Regions from separate parts of the Homo sapiens genome. Here region 1 is linked to region 2. Evidence: promoter capture Hi-C in human tissues and cell types (Jung and others, 2019). All regions are on one chromosome and are shown on one strand. The core of a region is centred on a gene start or on the middle of the fragment in contact, and the rest is flanking DNA. Distances in the headings are between cores, read along the strand shown.

The links. Contacts are between HindIII fragments. The study calls those that stand out against the background at their distance.
Region 1: a contact is called between a fragment that was not itself captured here and the fragment with the promoter of ZDHHC21 in region 2, in 2 of the 25 tissues and cell types used here (mesendoderm cells and thymus).

The regions. Positions count from the first base shown.
Region 1 is chr9:14,758,653-14,762,542 of GRCh38, reverse strand. FREM1 (FRAS1 related extracellular matrix 1) reads left to right here. Exons shown (of 37, transcript NM_001379081.2): 28 at 2,642-2,771. Among named protein-coding and RNA genes, the nearest start is that of CER1, 38 kb to the right of the region's middle. The HindIII fragment of the contact is 4,095 bases long and covers 1-3,297 here.
Region 2 is chr9:14,692,182-14,696,548 of GRCh38, reverse strand. ZDHHC21 (zDHHC palmitoyltransferase 21) reads left to right here and starts at 3,117. Exons shown (of 10, transcript NM_178566.6): 1 at 3,117-3,320. RefSeq lists an enhancer at 2,612-3,112 and silencers at 3,186-3,255, 3,336-3,475. The HindIII fragment of the contact is 8,706 bases long and covers 1-4,367 here.

The DNA.
Region 1 (3,890 bases), core at 1-2,500, 68 kb before region 2:
CAGGGAAATGCATGCACATTCCCAAACAGTAAGACCCTTTATACCTTGAAGCTGAACAGCCCTCTGAATGGTTCCCTTCTGAATTTAGATCAGAAATCAAATTGCATTTAGCTTTTCGCCTTGAGGTCACCAGGATCTACAGAATGACATTGATGGATTTTTACTTGTCATGGTTAGCATTAGCAATGGATGAATTCTCAGAAGAATTGGACATTGAAACTCATTTGAACCCTACTGATGGCTGAAATCCATGCAAATGTATTTGTTTCATTCTTTCCCACTGTCCTCCTTTCCTTCCCATTTCATCTTTCTCTCTTTTCCCCTAATCCATCTTGCTGACTTTTTTTTTCTTTCTCATTCAACTGGATCCTTTTGGGATTCTTTGCAACATATTTCTATTGGCATTTATGATATCCTTGTTGTTTGTTATCTTGTAATTCTTTAGGCACACACTAATCCCTCCTATCTGTGGGAGATATGTTCTAAGACCTCCAGCAGATGTCTAAAGTGCAAATAGTATTGAACCCTATGTACACTGTGCTTTTTCCTGTACTGCACATACGTTGCTAGGATAAAGTTTAATGTACAAGCTAGGCACAGTAAGAGATTAATAACTAATAAAATAGAACAACTATCATGGGATGCCAGCATCACTACTCTTGCACTTTGGGGCCATGATTATGTAAAATTAGAGTGACTTGAACACAAGCACTGTGACACTGTGGCTGGCAGTCAATCTGATAACCAAGCCAGCTACAGAGTGACTAATGGGCAGGTAGCATCTACTGTGTGGATGTGCTGGACAAAGGGATGATTCTTGCCCCAAGTGGAACAGCAGGGGATGATGTGAGATTTCATCACACTACTCAGAACAGCATGATGTTTAAAAGTTATGAATTATTTGTTTCTGGGATTTTTCACTTAATATTTTCAGATCACGGTTGACCACAAGTAACTGAAACCTTCAGAAAGCAAATTGTGAAAAAGAGGGATTACCGTAGTCATTTATTTCTGTTTCTTGATCTGTTTCATGCGAGATTTAAATTCAGTTGCATCAGAGACCCATAAAGTTTCCAATTTTTTTAATACAAGGATCCTCTTTTCTTGTTTAAAATTCTATTAATATGAAGTAGCAATAAACTCAAACAATAAATTTTAAATCTGACTGAATAAACAGGTATGTTTATATAGATTCATGAGCCCCTGTAATAATTCCATGCTCTTACCCTACCCTTGCCCCCTAGCCCATGATGCTCAGCTATGAACCTACACTGTTGAGTTTATCTGGCTCGTGAGCTTAATCCATAGAACGTGATTATGACACATGATCAGTGTGGACACAGTGGTTATTTGAAGACAAACTTCCTCCCTAATATGAATGGCCCCAGGAAAGCCTGGAGAGTGTGTGAAATATGTGAACACATGTTCCATATGGTGGCACCCAGAATTTCTAGTTCCACAAAAAAAGAAAGAAATTATAATAAATAAACTTAAAAGTAAAGAGGAAAGAGTCTAAATCTGACTAGAGGTTTGGGAAGTACAAGTAAGGCAACCACTAAGGATTTTGTAAATCTAGAATAAAAGGCAACTGAATAAAAAACAATGGAGGTGCAGTTAACAATCGTAGTGAAGGTTGCTTGTGTCTTTTATCCTGCTCTATAGTAAGGTTACAGATGGCAAAAAAAAGGCAAGACCTCAAAAAGGAAAATGTTTCTGGGTAAAGATAAAACCGTATTGCTCTGCTTGAGCTCACAAAAGAGTCGCAAAGAACTTCAGTTGGGGAGAGAAATGGTAGAGGTTGGATGGAAGATTTGGCATTAGATTTATGCTTGAATTTCATCTCTGCTATTAGCTTTGTCATGACTTTTTGCCTTTAAGTTAGTTACTTAACCTCTCTGAAGCTTGTTTGTCTGTTTGTTTTTGAAAAAAAATGTTCCTCTCTAGATGAAGATTAAAGAAGACAGTTTCCACCAAATGTTGGACTCACTAAATATATTGTGGAAAGAAAGACTATCCTCTATTTCTCAGGTTTATTTAGTTATATAGTTGCATCCAAGCCTCATACCAGTAGAGTCCTTTTTTTATGCACAGAAAGAGAAACAAATAACACTTATGAAACACATGTACATTTTAATTCCCAAGCACATCCTCAAAAATATTTTGTTATTAAACTGAACCCAAGTTCAGAGAATATCTCTGTCTGGAATTGTTCTTGTTGTACCAATTATCCTTATCTAAATGATAAGATAGAAGACTTCCTATCAGTGTCTTTTCCAAAAAGGAATGTCTCCTTGAACTTAACAACTGCTGGTTCCTTTCCCTTCAAAACATTCACGATTGAGTCCCCTTTTAGTTGTAAATATCTGGGAGACATTCAGCAGCCTTTTAACCTTAGATTCTTCATTTGTGAAATGGAATTCTAATCCTTGCTCTGTCTACCTTACAGGGTTGTTGTAAGGATCAAATGAGATAATGTTAGTAGACATTCTTTGTGAACTAAAATGTGTCAAATAAGTCTTAAGGAATTTCCATCACTGGTGTAGGTTGATCAACCACGTTTTTCCACTAGTCCGCTCAGCAGAGAATCCCTATAGGCATATACTATGCATTCTCATGATTTCTCTTTTCCTTTCACACACAGTTTGGAACTGAAGTGGTCTCATATTGAATGGTCACAGACCGAATATGAAGTCTGTGAGAATGTGGGTTTGTTGCCCTTGGAAATTATCAGAAGGGGATATTCCATGGACTCGGCCTTTGTGGGTATAAAGGTAATGACTCTGAAATGTAAATTATCAAGCTAAAACTTATGTTGTTCTTTGGTGTCTTTCATTATATTTTTTTTAGAAAAATTCAGAGTGACCAAGGAAATTTCAAATTGCAGGGAGATCCCACTATTCTGAGGATTCTAAGCACAAAACCTCCTTGGCCCTCCATCCATCATCTAAGTTCATAAACTCTGAGATATGATTTTTTAGTGTACGTGTTGCTGAAGCTAGCACAAGAGATATTATTATTATTATTGTTATTTTGAGACAAAGTCTCGCTCTTGTCGCCCAGGCTGGAGTGCAATGGCACAATCTCGGCTCACAGCAACCTCCACCTCCCAGATTCAAGTGATTCTCCTGCCTCAGGCTCCCGAGTAGCTGGGATTACAGGCACCTGCCACCAGGCCCTGCTAATTTTTGTATTTTTAGTGGAGACGGGGTTTCACCATGTTGGCCAGGCTGGTCTCGAACTCCTCACCTCAGGCAATCCATCCACCTTGGCCTTCGAAAGTGCTGGGATTACAAGCGTGAGCCACCTTGCCTGGCTGAGATATTAATTTTTAAAATCCATTTTTAATTTTGAAAGCTGTTATTTGTTTCTATGAACTCTTTAGACTTTGAGGTTTTATTTCATAGGGAGCTATATTCAACTTTGTGAACTTGGGCTGAACTCTGCTTTAGAAAGAGATGTTGTATGCAAGACATTCTGTGGGGTACCCAGAGCAAATTTCAGTCCCAAGAGGCTTTCTCTTAGTATTCACCTCAGTCACTTCCCATGGGCTCAGTTGATGAGGCAAATAGGCAGCTTAAACCCATCTATCTTAAGAGTTGTCCAAGCCATACAAAATTAGGAGAGCATATACTAATACAGGCACCCTGAAATATGAAGAATTTTCAGTTAACCACTTCTAGATCAGTCAACTTGCTATTTCTTTTCATTGATGTGACCCATGAAGCACAACCTATGGCTTCTAGAATTGAAGAATTTTTTTTAGGAGTCGTTATAACAAGAGCGCTTCAAGAGAATGAGAGCATGAAACACTTGTACACACTAATGATGGAGAATGAGCTGTAAAGACTCCCCCCCACCCCATCCCCCCACCATCTGATGAAAAAGACACT
Region 2 (4,367 bases), core at 1,868-4,367:
TTGTTTTGCAGTTTTCCTTGATATTTGGGGAAAAATGTTTATTTTACCTACTCTCTACATTCTAGGGATATTTCTTAGCCTGAAGTTCCTGGCTTCGCTGTGATCCTTTGGAGGCATAGGAAGGTGGGGCAACTTGTGAAACTTCATATATATAAATTTCATATATATAAATATATATGTTCCTGTATGTGTGTGTGTATATATGTGTGTGTGTGTGTGTGTGTGTGTGTATTTGTGTATATGTGTACTTTGCTGGGGTCCACAACTTTCATCAGATACTCAAAGAGATGTGTAACCCAAAAGAGAAGAGGTTAAGAACAACTTTTAGAATATTAGATTGTTATGGCACAGGCACTCTGCCACTCAAACAGATGGGAGAGACAACTATAGGCAACCAAGAAATCATGAATGTGCATCAAATATGGGTGCTTAAGGCATGGTACCCAGCTGGGCAGGTGGAGAATGCCATCCATCCAAAGCTGCCAAGGGCTATTAGCCAGTACTGATTAAACTCTGGACTGCACTGATTTTTGGAAATTGCACTAAAATCCAGATCCTCCCTAGTCACGGCACAGAAGCACAGGAGTTGGCTGTGTTTACCCTCATAAATGCCCTGAGTGTGCCTTTGTTAGAAGCTTGGTTGGCAGTGGCAGCAATGCTACTTGTCCTTGTCTACTTTTTCTACTTCCAGATAAATATTAGTTTGATTAATAATCACATTTCAGTTTGTCCCAGGCCCCATGAAGTAGATTAGAATTCTGGAGGGAAAAAATATGGTACGATCTATATCGTCTTTCCATAATATACCCAGTAAATAGAAAATCTTTTCAAAAGATTACCTGATGCCACATCTCCCTCACCCCCTTATTGTTACCCAGGTGCCTGAATGTATGGGTTGCAATACAATATAACCAATGATTAGCATGAATGATAGAACCAGATGACTTGACCTTCAGTGTAAGGGATAGGCAGGCCTTTGATTATACTCATGAAATGCCCATGCTAAAAAGGTTCATGTTTTTAAGGATGTTTCTCCTGCCTCTTCTCTCCTATTCCCTTGCTTAAAAATTCTCTGTGGAATTGATTTGGCTGATAAAAGACAGGCTAACTTATTTTAAAAAGGGACTGAAAAATCCATGCACTTCCAATTGTCATGTGCAATCATGGACCTGTCAACTAATTCTTATTTTGGCAGTTTTGAGATCACTTGTCACAAATTATTCCCTCTCACAGGGGTATCTGAAGAGAAAGCAAAATAATATGCAATTCATGTAGCTGGATTCAGGTGGAGGGGATTCTACTTTTAATATGCAATTGGGTAGCTGGATTTGGGTGGGGGGGGGATTTTACATTTAATATGCAATTCTGGTAGCTGGATTCGGGTAGGGAGGAGTCCACATTTAATATGCAATCAGGTAGCTGGATTTGGGTAGAAGGGATTCACATTGAATACGCAATCAGGTAGCTGGATTCCGGTGGGAGGATTCCACATTTCCTCTTCCTTCAAAGTGATTGTTTATATGAAATATCTCCTTCTTTTCAAACAGAGAAAGTTACAAAAATCCTACTACATCAAATGATTTATGAAAAATAAAGGTAATTCTATCAAAAGCAATCGTGACTAGTCTTTCAACCTCGCTATGCATATATCGGGGAGTGTATTTGTTAACCTGAAAGGCAATAAAATCTGCTTATGGGTAAATCAATTCCTACCACTGGGTTCTTTTGGGAATATCTAGTAATCTAGGTCAGTAATTCTAAAACTTGAGTGTGTATTAGGATCACCTAAAAGGCTTGTTACATCACGGATTGCTGGGCTACACCTAAACAGTTTCTACTACAGTAGATCTGGGATGGGGCAAAAGAATATGGATTTCTCACAAGTTGACAGGTGATACCGATGCTGCTGGTCTAGGGATCCCACTTTGATAACCACTGACCAAAGTTTTTAAGGTCACAAGGTGTTTATAATTAGTTCAGAAACCAGGACACAACATGTTTAAAAATCCTTAGCAATACAAGGTAATATGAGGCCCCAAACAGGCAACAATGTGCACTATATAAGGGCAGTGGTGAGAGAACTCTGGTTTGGCAAGATTTCCACTCTCAAATCTGGATAGGGTTAAGATCATCAGAGAGCAGGGCATTCTAGAATGGGGAAATGAACCAAATTAGTTGGAGCTAAGACTGGAGAGGTAGGTAGGGATGTGTCTGTGGAGGGCTTTTAAGCACATCTTATAAGGAATACAGATTTTATACAACAGGTAATATTTCTTCCACCAACACACTGTCTCCTCCTGTGGCACGTGGGCAGAAAGATCTAGCTCCACATTACTGCAAACGGTTTAACCTTCCCCAAATACTGTTCAGCCGGAGTGAGGTGGGAAAGTTAGTAGATCTCTGGTGTTTGGTGAAGATACCAAGTTAGACTGAGAGGTGGATTACTTGCATCGCTGAGTCCAAAAGTTGTCGGCTTTTGCAGGGATGGGAAAGCAGGAAACTTTTGGAGGTCTCCCAAAATATAAGAAAAGATTGTTTGGGTGTGGATTTAGGTTGAGGACAGGAACAGGAAATATCCTGGGATGTCTGAGGCAACCCAATAGAGGGTCTGAAGTGGACGAGACCATGCACTACAGTGCAATGCTTTTCCATCTTTACGGTGCACCCCAGGAGTCACCTGGTGATCTTGCTGAAGTGCATGTACTGATTCAGCAGGCCTGAAATTGTGCATTTCAAAGATTGTGAGTTCCCAGAGGATGCTGATGCTGCAGACCGCGCTTTGAAGCAAGGTACCATGGGACATCCCAGAACACCTGCGGGGAGAGAGGCCTGCTGGCCACATCCCCCGAAGAAAGGATACATGCAATCTTTTAAGCTAAGGCCCCCATCCTGTCTCTCGGGAGAGGTGAGCAGTGAGGATATGGGGACAATGAGAAGGACGGCTCAAGTAGGGCTGGGGAGGGGCAGAGGCGCCCAGGCGCGCCAGGTGCAAGCGCTCTGGAGAGTGCGGTCTGCCTGGGTCCGCGGCTCTGGGGCTGCGGCGCGATTGCAGGAGTTTCGGCCCTCAGCGGCTCCCATCGCGGCTCCCGGGAGCTAAGCGAGACGGCGACGGCGGCAGTCGTCCCTCCCCACGCGGGCGCGCGGGCATGCGGACACCCACTCGGCCGGTCCAGGCCCTCAGGCTCCCGGAAGCGGAAGGGGAGAGCGGCCCGGCCTGGGCGGCGGCGCCGGAGGAGGCGGAGGTGGCGCGGCAGGAGGAGGGGAAAGAGCTGCTGGCGGTCGGGAGAGCGGCGGCAGCGAGAGGCGAGCCAGCGGCGACGGTGAGTGTGCAGGCGCGGGGGCGAAGCGGCCGCCCCCACCCCCATCCCCATCCGCACCCCCACCCCCATCCCCGGCCCCCGCTCCGCTCTGCCGGGCCCGCCCGCCGCTCCTCCGCGCCGGGACGCCCTCACCTGTTCCTGCACGCCCCCTGCACCTGCTCTGTTTGGAACCCGGGGGTTTCTCGGTGCCTCCCCGCCCCAGGCCTGGCCTTTTTCAGAGCGTCTTCTGCTAGAGCTACAGCCCCTTGCTAAGTGCTCCTCCCTCAACTGGGGGTGGGGGGTTCCTGCTCTAGTCGAGACGATGTTGGCTAGTTATTTATTTATTTATTTTAAATCTGTATCCTGAGTTTCTCGCTTGTAAACTACAGTTTCTCTCCCCGCACCCCCGTCTGGAGACCTGCACTGGGATCCCGGGTTTCTCTGTGCTATTCCAGAGCTTTTCATTCATTCCAGACTTCTGGTGTGAAGCTGCAGAGAGGACAAACAGTTTGCTCCTTTATTGACCTTCTCACTCCTCTCCTCTTGATCCAAAGAGGTTTTCGGAAAATGGCTTATGGATGGCAGCAGTTTGCACTTGTTACTGTTCACTGTAACAGGTCGCTGGATTGTAACTGCAGAGTCCATTTAAGTTACGGTCTTTTTCAAGCTATATGTGGGTCACATTTTAAGATCCCTTGAGAGTCAGGGTGGATGTCTGTATCACCAGGGCTGAGAGGACATGACCAATTATTACTTTAAAATATTGCAATATAGCAGTCTCTAAAAGTAGAAGAGAAAAAAAAATCAAGGTCATTGTGGGCGGGTCATAAATTATATTGTAAAGTTACAGTCCAAAGGCGACTAAGGATAATTAAGTGCAATTTAAAAAGATGTGTTAAATAGGTCCTCAGCCTACTATGCTAATATATGCACTTTTAAAAATTCACTGCTTTCCTTGTGGTAAGAATAATATTAATAACAGTCACCATTTGATGACTGCTTAGTATGCGCCATTCCTGGATTAAAAGGCTTTTGGTGTAATATTAAATTCTTCCAACTCTTTAGATT